Linked DNA regions of Homo sapiens: regions 1, 2 and 4 are each linked to region 3. The links are contacts of gene promoters, found by promoter capture Hi-C in blood cells and fetal thymus (Javierre and others, 2016). All regions are on one chromosome and are shown on one strand. The core of a region is centred on a gene start or on the middle of the fragment in contact, and the rest is flanking DNA. Distances in the headings are between cores, read along the strand shown. Region 1 holds the start of SDHAF1 (succinate dehydrogenase complex assembly factor 1). Region 2 holds the start of LRFN3 (leucine rich repeat and fibronectin type III domain containing 3). Region 3 holds the start of LINC01531 (long intergenic non-protein coding RNA 1531). Region 4 holds the start of LINC01801 (long intergenic non-protein coding RNA 1801).

Evidence for each region. Contacts are between HindIII fragments. The CHiCAGO score rates a contact against its expected background, and 5 or more counts as called.
Region 1: the fragment with the promoter of SDHAF1 here is called in contact with the fragment with the promoter of LINC01531 in region 3 in 10 of 17 cell types (M0 macrophages, total B cells, neutrophils and 7 more); the score reaches 14.9 in M0 macrophages.
Region 2: the fragment with the promoter of LRFN3 here is called in contact with the fragment with the promoter of LINC01531 in region 3 in 2 of 17 cell types (total B cells and neutrophils); the score reaches 7.4 in total B cells.
Region 4: a contact is called between the fragment with the promoter of LINC01801 here and the fragment with the promoter of LINC01531 in region 3, in 9 of 17 cell types (naive CD8 T cells, total CD4 T cells, naive CD4 T cells and 6 more). The highest score is 19.9, in naive CD8 T cells.

What each region holds. Positions count from the first base shown.
Region 1 is chr19:35,993,692-35,996,458 of GRCh38, reverse strand. It overlaps SDHAF1 (succinate dehydrogenase complex assembly factor 1), which reads right to left and starts at 1,271. Exons shown (of 1, transcript NM_001042631.3): 1 at 147-1,271. The coding sequence starts at 1,184. The coding sequence ends at 837. RefSeq lists silencers at 815-934, 965-1,024 and enhancers at 1,085-1,164, 1,425-1,474, 1,809-2,308. The HindIII fragment of the contact is 4,511 bases long and covers 126-2,767 here.
Region 2 is chr19:35,934,924-35,937,623 of GRCh38, reverse strand. It overlaps LRFN3 (leucine rich repeat and fibronectin type III domain containing 3), which reads right to left and starts at 1,250. Exons shown (of 3, transcript NM_024509.2): 1 at 69-1,250. The HindIII fragment of the contact is 21,793 bases long and covers 1-2,700 here.
Region 3 is chr19:35,404,303-35,407,002 of GRCh38, reverse strand. LINC01531 (long intergenic non-protein coding RNA 1531) reads right to left here and starts at 1,396. Exons shown (of 5, transcript NR_040046.1): 1 at 1,322-1,396; 2 at 1-418. The HindIII fragment of the contact is 14,783 bases long and covers 1-2,700 here.
Region 4 is chr19:34,831,437-34,834,136 of GRCh38, reverse strand. LINC01801 (long intergenic non-protein coding RNA 1801) reads left to right here and starts at 1,268. Exons shown (of 6, transcript NR_033982.1): 1 at 1,268-1,412; 2 at 1,601-1,807. The HindIII fragment of the contact is 2,823 bases long and covers 941-2,700 here.

The DNA.
Region 1 (2,767 bases), core at 22-2,521, 590 kb before region 3:
CCGGAAGGAGTCAGATCCCCACACCTATCACCTCCCAGATGGTCCCTTCCAGGTGTCTGTGTGCGTGTGTGTGTGGTGGCAGGGGGGCTGGGGGTGTTTCAAAAATCCTGAAATATATAAAAGCTTTAAGACCACCAACAGGGAAGTAGACATATCCCCAATTTTATTCCCTTTGTCCAACATTCCGAGAGGGAAGGGGCAAATGAGTCAATGTTGCCCCTCAAAACCATCAAGTAGGGGCCTTTGGGGGTCTTCAGTTGATCAACCAGGGTGATAGACCCCTACCCCTTCCTCATGGTCCTGGCTTGTCACAATTAATGGGGGAAAGTTTTCCAGAAGGGGATTCCGGGCTTCTCACCGCTCATCAGGGCACCTTCCCAAAACGTTCTCAGCAAAAAGTCTGCACTTCTCAGAGTTAAATACAGGAGAGGGGAGACTCCTTGAGGAGCCAGAAGTGGGTATGTTCTCAGGGGTCAAGAGAAGGGCGTCTCAGGCTCTCCCTGTCCACCGGGGGTCGTCCTGGCTCCCCGTACCTTCGGGCAAGTAGCTCTTGGCTTGACACTGTCCAGCCCGCCAGCGTCCCAGGCCGCCCCAAGCCCTCATGGGGGAGGAGCACCGACCTGTCTCCAAGCATCGGAAAAGGCGGGCCTCCCTTGCCGTCCATCACGGGGCTCTCTAGGCCCCCTGCGTCGCCAAGGAGGAGTCTCTGACATCCCCAATTCGTCAAGCTAGTCTCTTAAGACCTCTCACCTTAGGCGGGTTCCCCAGTCCCCCCATGCAGTCAGGCGAGCCTCCTGGCTCCACCACGCCATCGAGCGAGTTCGGCTCTTCGCCTGTCACCGTCCGTCGGGGCGGGTCTCCGGTGCCCCCGTGCTGTCGTGGGGGTTCCTTGGACTGTCGCCGTCGTCAGGCTGGCAACCCACGCCGCCAGGCTCCCCGGTCGGGGCCCGCGGGCGTACGAAGGCGCCCATGGCGGTGGCGTGGCCCGAGCGTAGCAGCTGCAGCTGGCGCCGCCCGCGGCGGTACAGGTACTCGATGCGCAGCACGTCGGACCGCGGCAGGCCCGCATGCTGCCGGAACTCTGCCCGCACTCGCGCCTCGGCGCCCGGCTTCCCACGCCCGGCGCGCAGCAGATCGCGGTACAGGCTCAGAACCTGCCTCTGCAGCCGGCTGTGCCGGCTCATGACCGCGGCTAAGCAGAGACGCTCAGCGAACGACCTGCGAACCGCGGAGCCGCCACACAGCCAGCAAAGGCCAAAGGGCAAAGCCACAGCCACTTCCGCCCAGCGCTTCCCTTGGCCTCCAACTCCCGCCTCCCGCCATCCGGCGCTGCCGCGTCTGACTGGCTGTCGTTGCAGTTACGTAACAGCCGGCTGGGAGAAGTGGGCGGAGTCGCTGGTCGCGGCCTCCCACGTAGGGGACGTGTGTTCTTGAGGGGACAGCAGTTCTGGGGATCCTGGCACCGCCTGGAGGGCGTTATGTGTTCGGACTCCTAGGTCTTGGGTTGGAGGGAACAGAGGGTCCTCACCTAACTCCTGCATTCTGGGAGAAGAGGAAGCTAGGGGTTTTTTTGTGTGTGACGGGGTCTCGCTGTCGCCCAGGCTGGAGTGCAGTGGCGCGATCTTGGCTCACTGCAGCCTCGAACTCCTGGGCCCAAGCGATCCTCCCACCTCAACTCCCCTAGTAGCTGGAACCACAGACGCGCGCAACCGCGCCCGCTATTTATTTATTTATTTATTTATTTATTTATTTATTTATTATTATTATTATTTGCAGAGATGGGTCTCCCTATGTTGCCCAGAATGGCTCGAACTCCTGGGCTCAAACGATTCTCAGCCTCCCAAAGTGTTGGGATTCCAGGCGTGAGCCACCGCGCCCGGCTACCGGTTCGGACTTTGGGTCCCAAGGGCACGGGGCACTGGGAGAGACGCCGGGCACAAGCGTGCTTTTGCCGTCAGTTACTGATTCAAACCATCTTGGGAAGCTCCGTGCGTTCCCTCGTCCGGGGCAGGTCTGTGTCTGGGGTCCCAGCCCTGGGCACGTGCAGAGGGACGAGACCCCGTAGGGAAATGGCTCTCGGCCGGTTGGACAGGCTTCTCGGGCCAGGGGAAGACAAGCAGAGAGAGTGTGGGCGCCAAGCCCCCAGAGGCAGCGTGTGGCTCTAGGAGCTGGGTTGGTCGCGCCCTCTGCGGGTGGGAGTCGGGGCAGTGGACAGCGGTGTTTGGGTCCTTACCGACTGTTAAAGCCCGGAGTCCGGGACACCCTGAACAGTCGACTAGACTGCAACCCCGTTGTCCTCCCAGGAGCTTTAGGTGGTAGGCCGCAATGCCGTTGTTGTCCCCGCGGGCCGCCTGGAGGTGTCCTCGTAGCGCTAGGGAGGCCCGCAAGGACACAGCATCCTCGGGCCCCACCAGCACCGGAGCTTGGGGGACCCCTCCACCCAGCGCGCAACCGCGGCTCTGCACACTTGGGCCGGCAACCAGCTGGGGGGTCCATTCCCCTTCAGAGAGGAGAAGCTGGTCAGGGGCGGGGATTAGGCTTGGAGTCTTGGAGTCAGGGGAGAATCACAAACCACTGTGAATCCTGCCTGGCAGGTGTATGTATCTATCAAAAATACATGTCCTAGAACGGTGGCTCACACCTGTAATTCCAGCACTTTTGGAGGCCGAGGCGGGCGGACCACCTGAGGTCGGGAGATCGACACCAGCCTGATCCACATGGTGAAACTTCTGCCTCTAGGTTCAAGTGATTCTCCCTACCTCAGCCT
Region 2 (2,700 bases), core at 1-2,500, 530 kb before region 3:
GGTACCGTAACCCGCAGCCACAATGCTCCTCCCAGCCCGTCCCCACCTTGAGGTTTCAGCAGCCTTACCTGAGCTAGAAGCAGCCCCAGGGAGCAGAGTCCTAGCTCCAGGGGAGTCAGAGGTCAGGGCTCTGGAGGGAGCATCTGGTCATGCTTTTCCTGTCCCCAAGGCTTCTGTAGAGGGACTGTGTCCTGACTCGGCTCAAATCTGTGGCAACGGAGTCTCCAGACCTTAATACTCGGGGTTCCAGACCCCTAAATATTGGGCCTCTAGGGTCCAGTTTTACGGGTCCAGTTTGGGTTGTTCAGGGTCAGGGTCTCCCAGGTCCAGTCTTGGGATGCTAAGCAGCCAAACGGTGGGGTTTAGAGTCTGAGATCCGATCCCGGGGTTCTGCATTCAGATATTGGGGTGCTGAGTCAAGATTGGGAGGTCTCAAGCCCCAGATTTAAGCACTCAGGTCTGCAGCAAGGACTTCAGGCCCAAACTCGGGTTCAGGCCCCTTGGAATCCCACAGTCCAGATCTTGGAATTTGAGGCCTGAATCCCAGGGTTCAGGTCCCCAAGAGTGGGTTCCAGGGTACAGTACTGGAAATCCAGTCCCAGATTTCAAGGTCCCAGGCCCAGAATTCAGAGTTCAGCTCCAGGCTTGAGGTTTTAGATGTCAAATCTTGGGGTTCTGCTCCAAATATTGGGGTCTGTGTTCCAAATTGTGGGGTTCCGGCTCCAAATATTGAGGTCCCAGTGACCGATGTTGAGATTCCAGCCCCATATACTGGGGTTCAGGCTCCAGATCTTGGGGTTCCACGGCCGGATCTCGGGGTGCTGGTCCCAGATCAGGGTTCCAGGCTCGGGTTTCCGGAATTCCCGATTCAATCTGGGGGTGCAGGCCCCCGAGGTGGAGGTTAGGGCGCGGGGTCCGGGGCGGCGGCGTCCCGGCTGGCTTCCTGGGCTGCGGCGGAGGCTGACTGGGAGGGAGGGGACCGGCTGCGGTGGGGAGGGGGGCGACCGGGCAGCCCCAGGGCCGGGTGGGGCGAGGCCTGGGAGCGGAGGGACGGTCAGACAGACTGGGACACGCGGGATGGGGGCACCGCAGCGCAGGCGGGGGCGCAGGGGGGAGGGGCCGCGCTCAGAGACCCCTCCCCCGCCGGGGCCGAGGCGGGGGCCGGGCGGGGGCCGGGCTGGGCGGGCCGGGTCCAGGCGCTCCCGCGGCCTCCTCGCCGGCAACCCAGGGCAGCGCGCGCACCGGCGCTTAAAGGCGCAGGCTCCGCGCGCACCCGCGCTTAAAGGCGTAGGCACCCGCCCCTTCTCTCAAAGACGCGCCCCGGCCCCACCTCCCATGGAGTCGCACTGGCGCTGCTGGGAAAGAGAATCCCTGGATACAGAGAGACTGAGACAGAGAGACAGAGAAGAACGGAGATACAGAAAGGCAGACAAAAAGATGGGCAGGCTTAGATTGATGGATAGAGAGGAGAAAATGGAAAGAGGCAGAGAGACAGATTGAAACACACACATATTCGAGACATGGAAATGCACAGAGACAGCGAGACACAGAGAGTGATGGAGAGACAAGAGATAAGGACAAGTCAGAGAAAGACAGAAACAGAGATAGAGACGTGCGTGCGCGCGCACACACAGACACACACATACACACTCACACGCTCTAAGACGCAGCACCTGGGCTGTGAGAATGGTATGTGTGTATGTGCATTCAGTAACTATTCCTAGCCTTGAGTGTAGCGCTTCATTCCAGAGCCACTGGCCCCCCAAACCTGTCTCTTTCTGCCCCCCTTATCTCAGCACCACCTCCCTGGAATGTCCTTTCCACGGTTGGAGTTTCCTTACCTGGCCATGCCCAGCAATAGGCTTGATCTTTCAGGCCAGAGGGGCTCCTTCCCAAGGCTCCTTTCTCTGCCTGCAAGAGGGAAAACTTGTGCCATCTGGGATTAGGGAAAGACCTCAAGACACACTGACAGCCGGGGGCGGTGGCTCACGCCTGTAATCCCGGCTCGTTGGGAGGCCAAGGCGGGCGGATCTTTTGAGATCAGGCGTTGGAGACCAGCCTGGCCAACATGGAGAAACCCCGTCTCTACTAAAAATACAAAAATTAGCCGGGTGTGGTGGCGGACGCCCGTAATCCCAGCTACTCGGGAGGCTGAGGCAAGAGAATTGCTTGAACCCGGGAGGTGGAGATTGTAGTGATCTGAGATCCAGCCATTGCACTCCAGCCTGGGTGACAGAGTGAGACTCTGTCTTTAAAAGAAAGAAAGAAAGAAAGAAAAGCAGAGAGGGATGCCTTGCCTTGCAGGAGCCAGGCCAGGTGTCCTTGCAGTGCAGCCCACCAGGATCACCCGGGGGCACCATAGATCTCCAGGTCCCAACCTCAGAGTTTCTGGTTCAGTGGGTCTGAGGTGGGACCCAAACATTTGCATTTTTAACGAGTACCCAGGTGATGCTAATGTGACTTTTCAAAGACCATACTTTTTTTTTTGAGACAGGGTCTTGCTTTGTCACCCAGTACATTGGTGCAATCATAATTGACTGCAACCTCAAATTCCTGGGCTCAAGCAATCCTCCCACCTCAGGCTCCAGAGTAACTGAGACTACAGGCATGCATCGCCATATCCAGCTAATTTTTAAAATTTCTTGTAGAGACAGGGTCTCAATATGCTGCCCAGGCTGGTCTTGAACTCTTGGCCTCAGG
Region 3 (2,700 bases), core at 147-2,646:
GGCCCATCTGTACATCTCATTCTGCATTCGAGAACTTCAGAAGTAGAGGACCAGATGAATGGGAGTGGCCCTGCCGCCACGGGGCTGAGCTCCACCGCTTTTGTCCTGCTCCTCCTCGCCAGGCCCTGACCATCTCTCCACTGACTTGTCCTGGCCCCTTTTCCATTTCTGTGGCCTCTTCCCTCTCCTCCTTGGAGAGTAGCCTGTCCTCTGCTCCCTGCATGCTCTCCTTCCATCCCGTCTCTTCCTGGGGTTATGATCCCAGCAACCTCTTCCCTGAGCCCAGGCGAGGTCAGGTCCCTTGCCTTTTCCTGCAGGTAGATGGGTGGGTTTTCAAAGATGTCTGGTTTCAGAAGCCGGTGGCATCTTGTCTAACTGGACCACCTTTTCCTTTTCCACCAACGGCAGGCTTTTATACCTGGAAGAGTCATGTGGTCAAAAAGAGGAAAGTCAGTGGTTGAGCTCTTTCTAAAGCAGCTTGACCTTCTGGGTCTCCCACCAGATTTTGTCCCCAACAGACTTATTTCACCCAGAGTCCAATTTTTTTTTTTTTGAGGCAGAGTCTTGCTCTATCACCCAGGCTGGAGTTTAGTGGTGCGATCTCAGCTCACTGCAACCTCTGCCTCCCTAGTTCAAGTGATTCTCCTACCCCAGCCTTCCAAGTAGTGGGATTACAGGTGTGCAACACCACGCCCGACTAATTTTTGTATTTTTTGTAGACAGGGTTTCACCATGTTGGCCAGGCTAGTCTCGAACTCCGAACCTCAAGTGATCCGCCTGCCTTGCCTCCCAAAGTGCTGGGATTACAGGCGTGAGCCACTGTGCTCAGCCCAGAATCCAAATTTGAACAGTTTTTTCAGGCTTCCTCCTCCCCCTACATTCCAAGAGGTTGAATTCTGTTTCCTTCCCATGGGCAATTATCCCACACGACTACACGCACATCCATCTCTCACTTCCGCTTTTTCTTTCTTTCTTTCTTATTTTGTTGTTGTTGTTTTGAGACAGGGTCCCACTCTGTTGCCCAGGCTAGAGTTCAGTGGTGCAATCGCGGCCCACTGCAGCCTTCACCTTTCGGGCTCAAGTGATCCTCACACCTCAGCCTCCCGAGAAGCTGGGCCACAGGTGCACGCCACTGCATCTGGCTAATTTTTTGTATTTTTGGCAGAGACGGGGTTTCACCATGTTACCAAGAGTTGTCGAACTCTTGAGCTCAGGCAGTCCACCCGCTTTGGCCTCCCAAAGTGCTAGGATTACAAGTGTGAGCCACCATGCCCAGCCCCAAGTTTGTTTTTAGAAAAAAAAACCTAGCATTGTCCCTTGCCTATAACAGACACTCAAATCCTTGTGGAATGTAAGGATGGAGGTTGGATGTGCCTGTGAATACTTGCTAGCTGATGACACAAGCAAAGAATGTGTCAGAACCTGCGCCTTTTGTCTCCTGTCCTTTATCTGCATTCTGTTGCCCGGGTTACTGGTATGGGGACATCTTTGGTGCTGAGGTCTAGGTTCCAATGAGTCAAAGGGAGAATTCAAACTAAGTTGTCTGGCAGCACCCCAAGACTGTGCTGACCTCACACACAGCTGTATCACGGGAGTGGGCAGTGCATCATCTCAAATCCAACTCAACTGAGCAATGGTTCGGGCTGAGTCACACCATGTATGAATCGGGGGGCGGGGGTATGTGGCTCCTCTCCAACAAGCCACACTGTCTGCTTCCCTGTCACAAAACACATGGAGCCGTTACTCTGTGTGAGGTACTGTTCTAGGAGCTGGAGACAAGAGTGAACAGGATGAACAGAAAACAAGTAGACAAACCAACAAGGCAATTTTACAGGAAGAAAGGAAGTAGGCCAGGCAAGGTGGCTCACGTCTGTGATCTCAACGCTTTGGGAGGCCCAGGCAGGAGGACTGCTTGAGGCCAGGAGTTCAAAACCAGCCTGGTCAACATAGCGATACCCCGTCTCTACAAAAAGTGAGATAAAAAGTCAGGCATGGTGGCTCACACCTATAATCCCAGCTACTTAGGAGGCTGAGGCAGGAGGAGGATTGCTTAAGGCTGGGTGTTTGAGACCAGCCTGGGCAACATAGTGAGATCCCCTGTCTCTACAAAAAAGGATAAAAATAAAAAATTAGCCAGGCATGGTGGTGCACACCTGTAGTCCTAGATACTCAGGAGGCTGAGGCGGGAGGATCACTTGAGCCTAGGAGTTGGAAATTAAAATGAACTATGATGGCACCACTCCAATCCAGTGGTCCTGTCTGGGGGAAAAAAAAGGGAAAGAAAATAAATCGGCTAGGCGTGGTGGGGTTCATGCCTGTAACCCCAGCACTTTGGGAAGCTGAGGCGGGCACATCACTTGAGGTCAGGAGTTTGAGACCAGCCTGGCCAACATGGTGAAACTCTGTCTCTACTAAAAATACAAAAATTAGCCAGGTATGGTGGCGGGCACTGGTAATCCCAGCTACTCAGGAGACTGGGGCAGGAGAATCACCTTAACCTGGGAGGCAGAGATTGCAGTCAGCCGAGATCATGCCACTGCACTCCAGCCTGGGCGACAGAGGAAGACTCTGCCTCAAAAAAAAAAAAAAAAAAGGACCAAAAATCAAACAACAACAACAACAACAACAAAAAGCAAGCAGGGAAATTGAGAGAGAGAGAGAGAGAGATGGGCAGGGCCTGTCAGGAAAGGCCTGGGACAT
Region 4 (2,700 bases), core at 19-2,518, 570 kb after region 3:
ATTTGGGAGGGGCATAGTGACTAGGAATGAGCATGAGGTTGATTCTGAGGTGCCTGTGTTTTGCTTCTTGATCTAGATTACATAGGTTTGTTCATTCTGCAAAAATGTATTGAGGAATAGACAGATGATTTGTACACTTCTGTGTATGAATGTTATATTGTAAAGTTTCTTGAAGAATACCTGTTTACAAGAGTTAGAGAACATGGAAGCTCTTTCTCTGAGATAAAACATCTAAAAAGACAAAAATTAGCCGGGCGTGGTGGTGGGTGCCTGTAATCCCAGCTACTCGGGAGGCTGAGGCAGGAGAATGTCTTGAACCCGGGAGACAGAGGTTCTAGTGAACCAAGATCACACCACTGCACTCCAGCCTGGATGACAGAGGAAGACTCTGAGACTCCGTCACAAAAAAGAAAAAACAAACAAACAAACAAACAAAAAAGCCCTAAGTCATATCATGCCAGTCTCAGCAGTTTGAAACCCTCCATGGTTCCCATCTCTCAGTAAAAGGCAACGTTCTTATGACATCCTTCAAGGCCCCATGTAGTCTTTTGGTCCCTCTCCATCTCTGTCCTCCTGTCATCCACGTCTCCCACGTGCTGATTGGGTCTGGTAGGGTGACTGGGTGGCAAAGACCTCACAGAGGTGCCTTTCTGCTCAGGTGGCAAACAGGAGAGTCTATCTGGGCCCTGCAGGATGGATCCTTCCTGAGTCACTGAATATATTGGAGGTGCAGACAGCGCCAGAGAAAGGCATTGAGCCTGCCAGATCAGACACCGCCTCTTAGGGTCGACGGAACACCCAGGAGCAAAGACCAGAAATTGTGGGAGAAAGGCCTGGAAGGGGGCCGGGGAGAGGCACAGAGACAGCGAGGTGATGCAGGCTTGGTGGGAGCGGGTATGGTAGGCAATGGGGGACAGAGGGGCAGGGCACAGACAAAGCTTGCTGAAGATATGAAGAGCAATTGTGAGCCGGCGAATCCTTGGAGTAGAGGAGAAAATTGAGGTCTCCTGTTCAGCCCGATGCAGGTGAGATGCTGTTGGAACACGTGACAGAGAAAGGGTGTGTGAGCCCAGGGCTTGTGCACTAAGCGCACAGGAGCGAAGGGGGCGAGAAGAAAAAACGACGCCCAGCAAAGAGCGTCAAGGCCCAACCGCCTGCCCCCAACCGGTCTCTAGCGCCTCGTGACCTTCTGCACTCCGTTGCAGGCGTTTGGCACCAGATGGTCCCACGCGCTCTGTTCGACGGTTGGGGGCCGCGGACGCTGGTTGTCAGCAGCACTGGGTCAGCCGGTGAACGGGTGTGCAGCGTCCTCAGCGCCGCAGCAGTCAGCACCTGTGGGTGCTCTAGCTCTTTCCCTCGGGGTCACCGGAGGCAGAGCCTCCCCTACGCGGAGTAGAGGAGCAGCTCACATGGTGCGGGGGTGGGGATCGGGCTTCCTGGAAGGCTGGAAATGGGAGTTGGGATAAGGGGTTGGCGAGGGCGGGGCGGCACCGTCTACCGGGGTGACCGGTGTGCCCTGGCAGCCAGGGAGTCTGCTGCAGGGCAGGTATTAAGATTCGGAGAGACATAGGACAAAGAACCCTCGGCCTCTTCTTTTCAGGCAGCCGCCACAGAGGACACCAGATCATGCCAACACCCCCACAACTCCTGCCCGCCTGCAGGCAGCTCTGGGCTCAGGACACCGCCTGCAAGAACCTTTATAGCGCAGCTCTCCAAACCTTGGAGGCGAGGACATTCTATGTGCCCGCCCTGGAAAGGCCTGAACCTATAACATCTGGGCTGTGATGGTTTCTGAGGTGGACACCAGGTATTCTAAACTGCCCACATGCTTCACCCCAAAACTTCCCTTTCTAACAGGCAGTGTATTTTCACTTCTTTTAAAATATTTGGTAAAACAGCATTTAAGCCTTAGAAAGTTCCCCATCTCACCCCAGCCAGGGTTTGAACCCATGCTGTCTGATTCCACAGATCATGCATTTAACCACCAGACTTTGGTGTAGCCTCACCGTGTGTGCATAATGGATTACACTTGTTTATAATACTTGGGGTGCTTAGCACCATGTCAGAGCTGTAATGAGTACTTGCACTGTTAGGAGGTCTAACATGGTTCAATTTATAAGTGGACCATTGGCCACACCGGGTCTGGCTCAGTCTCCTGGGAGGATGTAGGCAGGGACCACCAATTATCAGCATATCTCCATGATGAATTTCTCCAGACAGCGTATCACTCTGTCACACAGGCTGGAGTCACAGCTCACTGCAACCTCGAACTCCTGGGCTCAAGAGATCCTCCCACCTCAGCTTCCCAAGTAGCTGAGACTGCAGGCATGCGCCACCACGCCTGATAATTTCTCTTCTAATTGAGCTTTGCAGAAAGCCACACAGCTGTCTGAGAGCTATTTTCTCCCAGGTATAGGGACAGGAAATGGCACCTCAGACTTCTGCAGATTCCACCCTGGCTTAAAAGCCCATGCCCCCAAGGACACCAATCTTTCTTACAATAACATAGACTATCTTTCAGGGTCCTGGCCAAGATGGACAACTTGCCAATATTAACTTTTCCAGGCCACAGGGATGATATATATCTCCATAGATTTAGGTCTTGAGTATTTTCTCCTAGAAATATTTCGCAGCAAGGGTCAGCACTGCAGCCTATGGGCCAACAAATTTAGCCTGTAGCCTACATGTAAGGCCAGTGAG